Linked DNA regions of Homo sapiens: region 1 is linked to region 2. The links are contacts of gene promoters, found by promoter capture Hi-C in blood cells and fetal thymus (Javierre and others, 2016). All regions are on one chromosome and are shown on one strand. The core of a region is centred on a gene start or on the middle of the fragment in contact, and the rest is flanking DNA. Distances in the headings are between cores, read along the strand shown.

What was found. Contacts are between HindIII fragments. The CHiCAGO score rates a contact against its expected background, and 5 or more counts as called.
Region 1: a contact is called between a fragment that was not itself captured here and the fragment with the promoter of STAR in region 2, in 1 of 17 cell types (megakaryocytes). The highest score is 5.0, in megakaryocytes.

Annotation. Positions count from the first base shown.
Region 1 is chr8:37,861,934-37,866,483 of GRCh38, reverse strand. RAB11FIP1 (RAB11 family interacting protein 1) reads left to right here. Exons shown (of 6, transcript NM_001002814.3): 6 at 3,371-4,550. The coding sequence ends at 3,589. Among named protein-coding and RNA genes, the nearest start is that of BRF2, 14 kb to the right of the region's middle. The HindIII fragment of the contact is 1,803 bases long and covers 2,180-3,982 here.
Region 2 is chr8:38,149,098-38,154,032 of GRCh38, reverse strand. It overlaps STAR (steroidogenic acute regulatory protein), which reads left to right and starts at 3,081. Exons shown (of 7, transcript NM_000349.3): 1 at 3,081-3,278. The coding sequence starts at 3,215. RefSeq lists enhancers at 1-518, 2,562-2,594, 2,943-3,242 and a promoter at 1,793-3,108. The HindIII fragment of the contact is 1,310 bases long and covers 1,798-3,107 here.

The DNA.
Region 1 (4,550 bases), core at 1,832-4,331, 290 kb after region 2:
AGTCCAGGGTAAGAATCCTGGTGAGAAATACATGACAATGGGCACCATTCTTTCTTGCATTTGTGGGTATTTTCTCTGTGCTTCTTCTTCTCCAAGGCCATTACTCACTTTTTATGATGCTGGCTTATTTATAATTTTTTTTTTTTTTTGAGATGGGGTCTCGCACTGTTGCCCATGCTGGAGTGCAGTGGCACGATCTTGGCTCACTGCAACCTCCGCCTCCCGAGTTCAAGCGATTCTCCTGCCTCAGCCTCCCGAGTAGCTGGGACTACAGGTGCCCGCCACCATGCCTGGATAATTTTTTGTATTTTTAGTAGAGAAGAGGTTTCACCATGTTGGCCAGGTTGGTCTCAAACTCCTGACCTCATGATCCGCCCACTTCAGCCTCCCAAAGTGCTGGGATTACAGATGTGAGCCACCATGCCTGGCCCTGTTTTATAATTTTTAAATATTGCAAAACTAGGCTCTTCTAATGATTTTCAAGTCCTTTATATCCTTTTTCCCTTTCAATTACAGAATCCAAATTAAATAGCTGTTTGACGGTTCGTATGAAGTACCTTAAGTGTGTACACATTTTCAATTCTAGGCATTTATCTTAAGGAAGTACTTAGAGATATGGCCAAAGATTTATGTTCGTGCATTTTGATAAAAATGTTATATATAATTGTACAAATTGAAAACAACATAAATATCCAGCAATAGAGGAATAGTTAAAATATAATGAGATTTTAAGCATCCATTAGAAAAGCAAGTTTTGCTAAAATGTTATGATGGAAAAAATGCTTATTAAATAGTAAAAAGCTGTAAAACTATTATTTTGTATGAGGCTGACATTATAAAACATATCATCAAGAACCCCAGGAAGGCCGGGCTCAGTGGCTCATGCCTGTAATCCCAGCACTTTGGGAGGCTGAGGCAGGTGGATCACTTGAGGTCAGGAGTTCAAGACCAGCCTGGCCAACATGGTGGAACCCTGTCTCTACTAAAAATACAAAAATTAGCTGGATGTGGTGGCAGGTGCCTGTAATCCCAGCTACTCGGGAGGCTGAGGCAGGAGAAGCACTTGAACCTGGGAGGCAGAGGTTGCAGTGAGCCGAGATCGTGTCACTGCACTCCAGCCTGGGTGTCACAGTGAGAATCTGTCTCAAAAAAAGAAAAAAAAAAAAAAGAATCCCAGGAAAAATAAAGAGACCCAAATGTTAGGTGTTGGAATTAATTATATGACACCCTACAGGTGTCAGCCTCTGCATCCCTCTCTCTTTCAAACTCCATGCAGAGTATCTTATGTATTGAGACTTTTAAAAAATAAATAAATAAGATCCTTATATGACAGAGATATAATCTAAAATCCCTTGAGGACGTATTCTTTGCCATTATTTACAAAGGTGACTCTTTTTTCTTGATATAAAATGTAAGGCTGGGTGTGGTGGCTCATGCCTGTAGTCGCAGCATTTTGGGAGGCCAAGGTGGGAGGATCACTTGAGCTTGGGTTTGAGACCAGTCCAGGCAACATAGAGAGATCCCGTCTCTATGGGGAAAAAAAAAAAAAAAAGGCATTAAGTACATTCACATTGTTGTGTAATCAATCGCTAGGGCTCTTTTCCAGACTTGCGACTTTTCAATGAAATATTGTTTTGGAAGTCACATCTACAGTGACTGAGGTCCAGAGGAGGTGCATCGTGAATGCATGCCTTCAAAGTTTTAAAAAACAAAGATTAGGGGAGAAGCAGGTTTTGGAAAAGCAGTCCAGTGTCTCACCTCTAAATGTGCAGCCTGTGTGGGGTTGAACCCGCTCTGTCTATGGAAACGTTGGTGTTGTGTGTCTAAGTTAGTACCGCCATCATCTTGCTTTTGTTCCTAGCCAGGATGGGAGGGCTGGGATCCCTCCTTTGACTTCTGGCTCGTGTCCAGGCAGTTTGCGTCACTGACTGAACTGGGGCTCCTATCATGTCACTGAGGAACTAGTGTTGATTCTTGGAGAAGGTAGTCTCTTGGCCTTCCTGGTAGGCAGTGAAACCGTTAGACCCTCAGGGCAGTAAAGCTATTCCTGCCTCAGAGCTCTGCCAGCAAAATCATCTTGATTCTTTAAACATGTAAATCTCAGGCTACAGATTTCAGGAAAAGTCACTTTTTTTTCCTTACTGGGGACTTACACAGCATGTGACTTTTCATTTAAGCTTTACCTTACATCTCCTCCTGGTTCAAGCTGCTTGGGCTTGCAGGGGCCCCAGATCATAAATGCTGATAAAGCACAGTGACTCCGCAGGGTGTGTGCTCTCCTCGGGAGTGGAACACTCAGCTCTGGGACAGGCCGCTGTGTACCCAAGGGCGTGCCTAGACGGCCACGGGTGAGGACGGGGCATGGTGGCACCTGGCTCTGACTCCGCATATTTCTCGAGTATGAAGTGATGTGAAGTGGGGTCCCTGGGTGTCCTCTGCATCCACCTGCTCATTGAGTCCTTCTGAGCGCAGCTTTGGCAGGAGCAGACAGTCTGGGCTGGACCTCGACCTGCTGCCCTGGAAAGAAAGCCCTTGCTCCCTGCACTTGCTGTCACAGCTGTGTCTTCCTGGGCCCCCTCTGGCTTGGGAGTCGTCACCAGCTCTGCACTGGTGTTTGGTTGTGTGAGCTCCTAGTGTTCCCAAAGGAGTGAGCACTCATTTGGAGAACTGAGTCCTCCCATGATGGCACTGCTTAAAATCCAAACCCAGAGTCAAGTCCAGAGGTCCTCGACCTGTGAGGCAAGTATGGTTTTTACATTTTTAAAAGTTCATACAACAAAATAAAACAAAACAAACAGACCAAAAAACCAAGGAAGAACATGTTAACAAAGGCTGTCTGTGGCCCGCAAAGGCTCAAATATGTGCTATCTGGCCCTTTCCAGAAGACTTCATCAGTCAACAACCTGTTTTCACTGTAAATTGAAAACGGATTCCCTGGCTGGGCACGGTGGCTCATGCCTGTAATCCCAGCACTTTGGGAGGCTGAGGCAGGCGGATCACCTGGGGTCAGGAGTTCAAGACCAGCCTGGCCAACATGGTGAAACCTTGTGCCTACTAAAAAAATACAAAAATTAGTCAGGCATGGTGGTGCATGCCTATAGTCCTAGCTACTCAGGAGGCTGAGGTGGGAGAATCACTTGAACCCAGGAGGCGGAGGTTGCAGTGAGCTGAGATCGCGCCACTGCACTCCAGGCTGGGTGACAGAGTGAAACTCAGTCTCAAAAAGAAAGAAAGAAAGAAAGAAAGAAAATGGATTCCCAAGAGACCCAGATCACTAGTCACTTTTTCCTCCTTTGTACTTCTTTTAGGTTTTAGGTTTCTGTGCTAATTTTATAACTCCTTTTTCCCAACTATTTCCCCCCCTCCAAAGAAATACAGCCCCTCGGACCCTGCATTTGCATATGCGCAGCTGACCCACGATGAGCTGATTCAGCTGGTCCTCAAACAGAAGGAAACGATAAGCAAGAAGGAGTTCCAGGTCCGCGAGCTGGAAGACTACATTGACAACCTGCTTGTCAGGGTCATGGAAGAAACCCCCAATATCCTCCGCATCCCGACTCAGGTTGGCAAAAAAGCAGGAAAGATGTAAATCAGCAGAAAAAAAACACCGAGACGTTTCTGTGACTTCACTTTCACCTGCTCCAGGGGTCAAGGACTTGCCTTGCCTGATAACCAGCCAGCAGGCTCCGAATCACCATCTCCCTCACATGTTATCCGGCAAGAGTGAATTCTACCAATGGAAGCCAGGTTAATGATTACAATTAATCTTTTACTGTACATTCCCAAGGCTTTAGTTTTAAATGCCACTGTGCCTTTAACAAGGTTGTAAATATTTTATGCCCACCAGAGATGTGGTCATAAGATCTGATCCTGAGCCAGAGATTCAGATGGCACAGGAAGTATTCATGTATTTTAACACTGGGGTTTTCTTTCTTTCATACTGAGATTTTTTTTCAGTATGTATCCTCCAGCTCTTAAAGCTTACCTGAGAAAGCTTTAAATGAGAAAAGGACCATGCGATTGGTGCTGTGTTACATACACATACTTTCTTGGCTTCTGAGTAGCTCAGGTGTGGCTTTTGGCTGCAGATGTTAAATTTTGATACCATGTAAACCTACCCAGCTTCTCAGACTTGGGTCTTGTTTTTTGATGGGAACAGAGGTGTTTAGAGAAAGCCTCTGAGTATGCCTTTCAGATTTTGAACAAGCGGCCTTTTCTAAACATCGACTTCTACTACTCTCTAGCCTTAAAATACCTTCTGCTTAGATCCAGGGCCCTTCTACTGGAGATAGGAAAAGTAGAATTCAGGAATTAAAAGAATTACTCTTTATTCAATTTGAGGAACTTGGTGAAAGCCCCTCCTCTTATGACAGCCAGGTTCCTGCTGGCTAGACCAGCCTATTCAGCGCTTTGCTAGGGGATTGGGTGGTCCACGCACTCGCTAATACAGTTCTCCAGGTGTGGAATGATGTCAATACGATTGCTTGGCCTTTTCCCCCTGTGCCTTTGCTCGGTGCTCTGGTTTCCTCAGCAACACTCCTTGTAAGGGG
Region 2 (4,935 bases), core at 1,832-4,331:
CATAATTCTCCACAGGAAGGCAGCAGCAGGGCCTTGATCATCATCTGCATGGCCTGTCCCATAATAACCGCCTTCCCCCTCCCCCCACCTCGCTGAGGCAGGCCTGCAGACACACATGTGCAGGAGAGGCACATGCCCCAGCAGATCAGAGGGAGGAGCCGGGGGAGCTGGCACCCCACCTGCCCAGCTCATCCACTGCACCTCCTCTCTGAAAGGTAGAGGGCCTAGGCACAGGCTGGCGACGGGGGAGAGGCCCTGCTGTCTTCCTTGGGGACTGAGGGCTGGAAACAATGCCTTCAGGCAGGTTTCCTGAGTCTAAAGATATACCTGCACCCCTAGCTGCTTTCCCAGTTGGTCACTCAATAGAGAAGGAGCACACCAGGCACAGTGGCTCACTTTGGGAGGCCGAGGCAGGAGGATGGCTTGACCCCAGGAGTTCAAGACCAGCCTGGGTAACATAGCAAGACCCCGTCTCTATTTTTAAAAATTAAAAAAAAAAAAAGTTTTAATAGAGAAGGAGCAAGAGTCCCCTGTGTCTCTGCTGGAGGTGAGTGCTGAGGGTGGGGACAGCTTTTAAGGGGGAAAGTGGACCCAGCACCTGCCTTGGGGAGATAATTCCACAGAAGAGACAAGCAAACACATACAAACCATTCAACAAATCAGGACCAGAACTAAGCCCCTCAAGTGATACTGACAGTAAGGGTGTGGTGGGAGGAGCCAGCATTCCAGAAGACCAGGATGGTCTAGGAAGGTTTCCTGGAGGAGGTTTTGAGGAAGGGGCCGGGTACCTCTAGGCAGCCTCTGCTCACAGGATTCCCCGACTGCATCACCGGGGTGGAAATCGGGGGCCAGGGGGGTGACTCCCCTGTTCTATATGGGCTCCAAGTGCCAGGCCTGGCTCTGAGCAGATCCTGTCCCTTTCACCCTGTCTGGTGTTGGGGAGACAGCGAGAGTGCATGGGGCCCCGGCACTGCTCCCCATTTTTAGGGCTCCCCTCTGCCTCTGTGAGGTGGTGGCAGGACACAGAACTCCCTCCCACAGGGAGCAGGGCCTGGGCCAGGGGCAGTTCCAGTGTGAGTTTTTCCACTCCCAATATTCTTGCCCAGTGAATCTGGCTTAAAAGCAGCCTCAAGGTCACTGTAAAGGGAAGAGATTCCGTCAGAGTCAGAGCCCAGCACGTGCTGCGCCTGGGTAAGGGTGAGTGGGAAATGCAGAGGCCTCGTGGGGCCTTGCTCAGCCTGACAGGGCCCCTAAAGTGCAAAGACTAGGGTGAACACCCCAACGCCCTGTCTTTTCTTTTTTTCCTTTTTTTTTTTTTGCAACAGAGTCTCGCGCTCTGTCATCCAGGCTGGAATGCAATGGTGTGATCTCAGATCACTGCAACCTCTACCTCCCAAGTTCAAGCAATTCTGCCTCAGCCTCCTGAGTAGCTGGGATTACAGGTGCCTGCCACTATGCCTGGCTAATTTTTGTTTTTTTGTTTTTGTTTTTGTTTTGAGACGGAGTCTTGCTCTGTCACCCAGGCTGGAGTACAGTGGCTTTATCTTGGCTCACTGCAACCTCTGCCTCCCGGGTTCAAGTGATTATCCTGCCTCAGTCTCCTGAGTAGCTGGGATTATAGGCATACGCTACCACTCCCGGCTAATTTTTGTATTGTCAGTAGAGACGAGGTTTCACCATGTTGGTCAGGCTGGTCTCAAACTCCTGACCTTGTGATTTGCCCGCCTCAGCCTCCCAAAGTGCTGGGATTACAGGCATGAGCCACTGTGCCCAGCCCATGCCCTGTCTTTTCAAGCTTTCTGCACATACCAAGACCCCCAGCCCAGCTCACTCAGACAAAGCTACTGGCGGGAAAGTGTGAGGAAGGGTGTGGGCGTGGCCCAGGCCCTCCTCTTCTCTCTGCCGTATACTGATAGGGCTGCCCCGCCCCCCCCCGCCCCCCCGCGACTCAGCCACGAGAGGTCATCCTTGCTCCAGCACAGACCCCTAAGAACCCTCACTCGGAACAGGACTTTGGGAAAGGTGGTTTCTATAAATAGATGAGTAAATAAATTGACAGTTGAATATACCAAGCGTCCTGGGGACCGCAGGAGGAACTGTGTACAGATGGCTTGAAGGCCAGAGGCTTGGGTTGTTGTCCTGGCCCTGCCACTGGCCAGCTGTTTGACCTTGAACAAGTCAGTTCCACTCTGTGGACTTCAGGGTCCTCACCCAGAAGAAGAGCAGCCATATGGTCTCTACTGCCTGGTAAACACCCTGGCTCACTCTCGCGAGACGGTGGTTCTCAAAGTGTAGTGTGTAGTCCACACAACACCTGCATTGCAACCACTGGGTATTTATTTATTTATTTATTTAATTTATTTATTTATGACGGAGTCTCACTCTGTCGCCCAGGATGGAGTGCAGTGGCACGATCTTGGCTTACTGCAACCTCTGCCTCCTGGGTTCAAGTGATTCTCATGCCTCAGCCTCCCGAGTAGCTGGGACTACAGGTGCCTGCCACATCACCCGGCTAATTTTTTGTATTTTTAGTAGAGATGAGGTTTCACCATGTTGGCCATGCTGGTCTCGAACGCCTGACCTCAAGTGATCTGCCCACCTCGGCCTCCCAAAGTGCTGGGGTTACAGGCGTAAGCCACCGCGCCTGGCCAAGGGAAGTTTTTTTCTTTTCTTTTTTTCTTTTTTCTTTTCTTTTCCTTCTTTTTTTTTTTTTTTTTTTTTTTTTTTTTTTTTTTTAACACAGGTTTCTGAGCCTCAATTCCAGATCAGCTGAGCCTGGAGTTTCTGAAGACAAGGGCTAGAAATCTGCACTTTAAAGTCTTGAAAACCACTGTGTGCCTTCATCTAAGCTGCCCCTGCTTCTCTCCCCTCCATCCCTCGCCTGGCCCTGTCCTCCCTACTCTCCCCTGCACCCTCCCCCGCCCCAAGCTCCCCACAAACGGCCAAAGCAGCAGTGTGAGGCAATCGCTCTATCCTTGACCCCTTCCTTTGCACAGTGAGTGATGGCGTTTTTATCTCCTGATGATGATGCACAGCCTTCAGCGGGGGACATTTAAGACGCAGAACACCAGGTCCAGGCTGCAGCTGCGGGACTCAGAGGCGAAGCTTGAGGGGCTCAGGAAGGACGAAGAACCACCCTTGAGAGAAGAGGCAGCAGCAGCGGCGGCAGCAGCAGCGGCAGCGACCCCACCACTGCCACATTTGCCAGGAAACAATGCTGCTAGCGACATTCAAGCTGTGCGCTGGGAGCTCCTACAGACACATGCGCAACATGAAGGGTGAGCGCTGCGGGAAGGAGGCGATGAGGGGTTGGCCAGCTCTCAGCGGATGAGGCTCAGGCCACCCAATTCTGATCCTAGTTGTGCCTCTTACTGGGTGAACCTGGGCAAGTTTCTTCCCTTCTTGAATCTCAGTTTTCCCCTCGGAAGAAGTGGGCTGGTTACTAAGATATATCCCTTCCAGATTCTATAATTTCTGGTCTCCCCTCCAGGACTCCAATCTTTTTTTCTCCTTTTCTTTCATTTTTATTCTTTTTCTTTCTTCCTTCCCTCCTTCCTTTCCTTTCTTTCTTCCTTTCTTCCTTCCCCTTTTCCTTCATTCGTTCTTTTTTTCTTCCGCCTTTTCTTTTTTTTTTGTTTGAATAAAGGTCTCTGTCACAGAGGCTGGAGTACAGTAGAACAATCATAGCTCACTGCAGCCTCAAACTCATGGGCTCAAGCCATCCTCCCACCTCAGCCTCTTGAGTACCTGGGACTACAGGCGTGCACCACCACAACCAGCTAGTTTTATTTATTTATTTTTATTTTTATTTTTTTTAGAGACAATGTCTTGCTATATTGGTCACGCTGGTCTTGACCCCCTGGGCTCAAGGGATTCTCCCACCTTGGCCTCCCAAAGTGCTGGGATTACAGGTGTGAGCCGCCACACCTGGCTTACTTTATTTTGAGATGGAGTCTCACTCTGTTGCCCAGCCTGGAGCGCAGTGGCACGATCTCGGCTCACTGCAACCTCCGCCTCCTGGGTAGCTGGGATTACAGGTGCATGCCACCACGCCTGGCTAGTTTTTGTATTTTTAGTAGAGACAGGGTTTCGCCACGTCGACCAGACTGGTCTTGAACTCCTGACCTCAGGTGATCTGCCTCCCAAACTGCTGGGATTATAGGCATGAGCCATGGCGCTCAGCCTATTTTATTTTTGAGGCAGTCTCGCTCTGTTGCCTAGGCTGGAGTGCACTGGCGCTATCTTGGCTCACTGCAGCCTCTGCGTCCTGGGTTCAAGCAATTCTCCTGCCTCAGCCTCCTGAGTGGCTGGGACCACAGGCGTGCACCACCATGCCTGGCCATCTTTCTTGAACTATTCCTGACTTTGCCTTCCTTCAGAGCTGGACAAGTCTTGTAGCAGGGGTACACAGGAAAGTCTTGCCCACAGTGGCAGAGTAAATATTAGACTTGACTCCCACAGGCAAAAAAAGACGGAGAAGAGACATAGGGGAGTAAGACAGGAGGGCAAGGTAAAGAGATAAGACGGAAGACTGATTATCATTGAATAGCCAGGAAGGGGCAGAAACCAGCTACAAGAGGCCACTTTTGTAGAGCTGATTCGCATCCAAGGTCATTTGAATCAATCCCCTGCTGCCACTGAAGGGTACACAAGTCAATCTAGGCACGATCTTTCCAATTACACTGGATTGAATTAGCTACCTTTAGAGCGAGAAGCCATGCTTAGATCTGCAGCTGGCAGTGGTGTTGTCGTCCTCACTAGATGGACAGGGCTTCCCTGGCCCAGAATCCAGGGGCACACAGAGTAGCTTATGCATGCAAGCACACAGACTCACAGAAGCACAGATTCATGCAATCAGATTCTGGCAAGCACACAGACCTCATGCAAGCACAGACTCGTGCAGACACACAGACTCATGCAAGCACACAGGCCTCA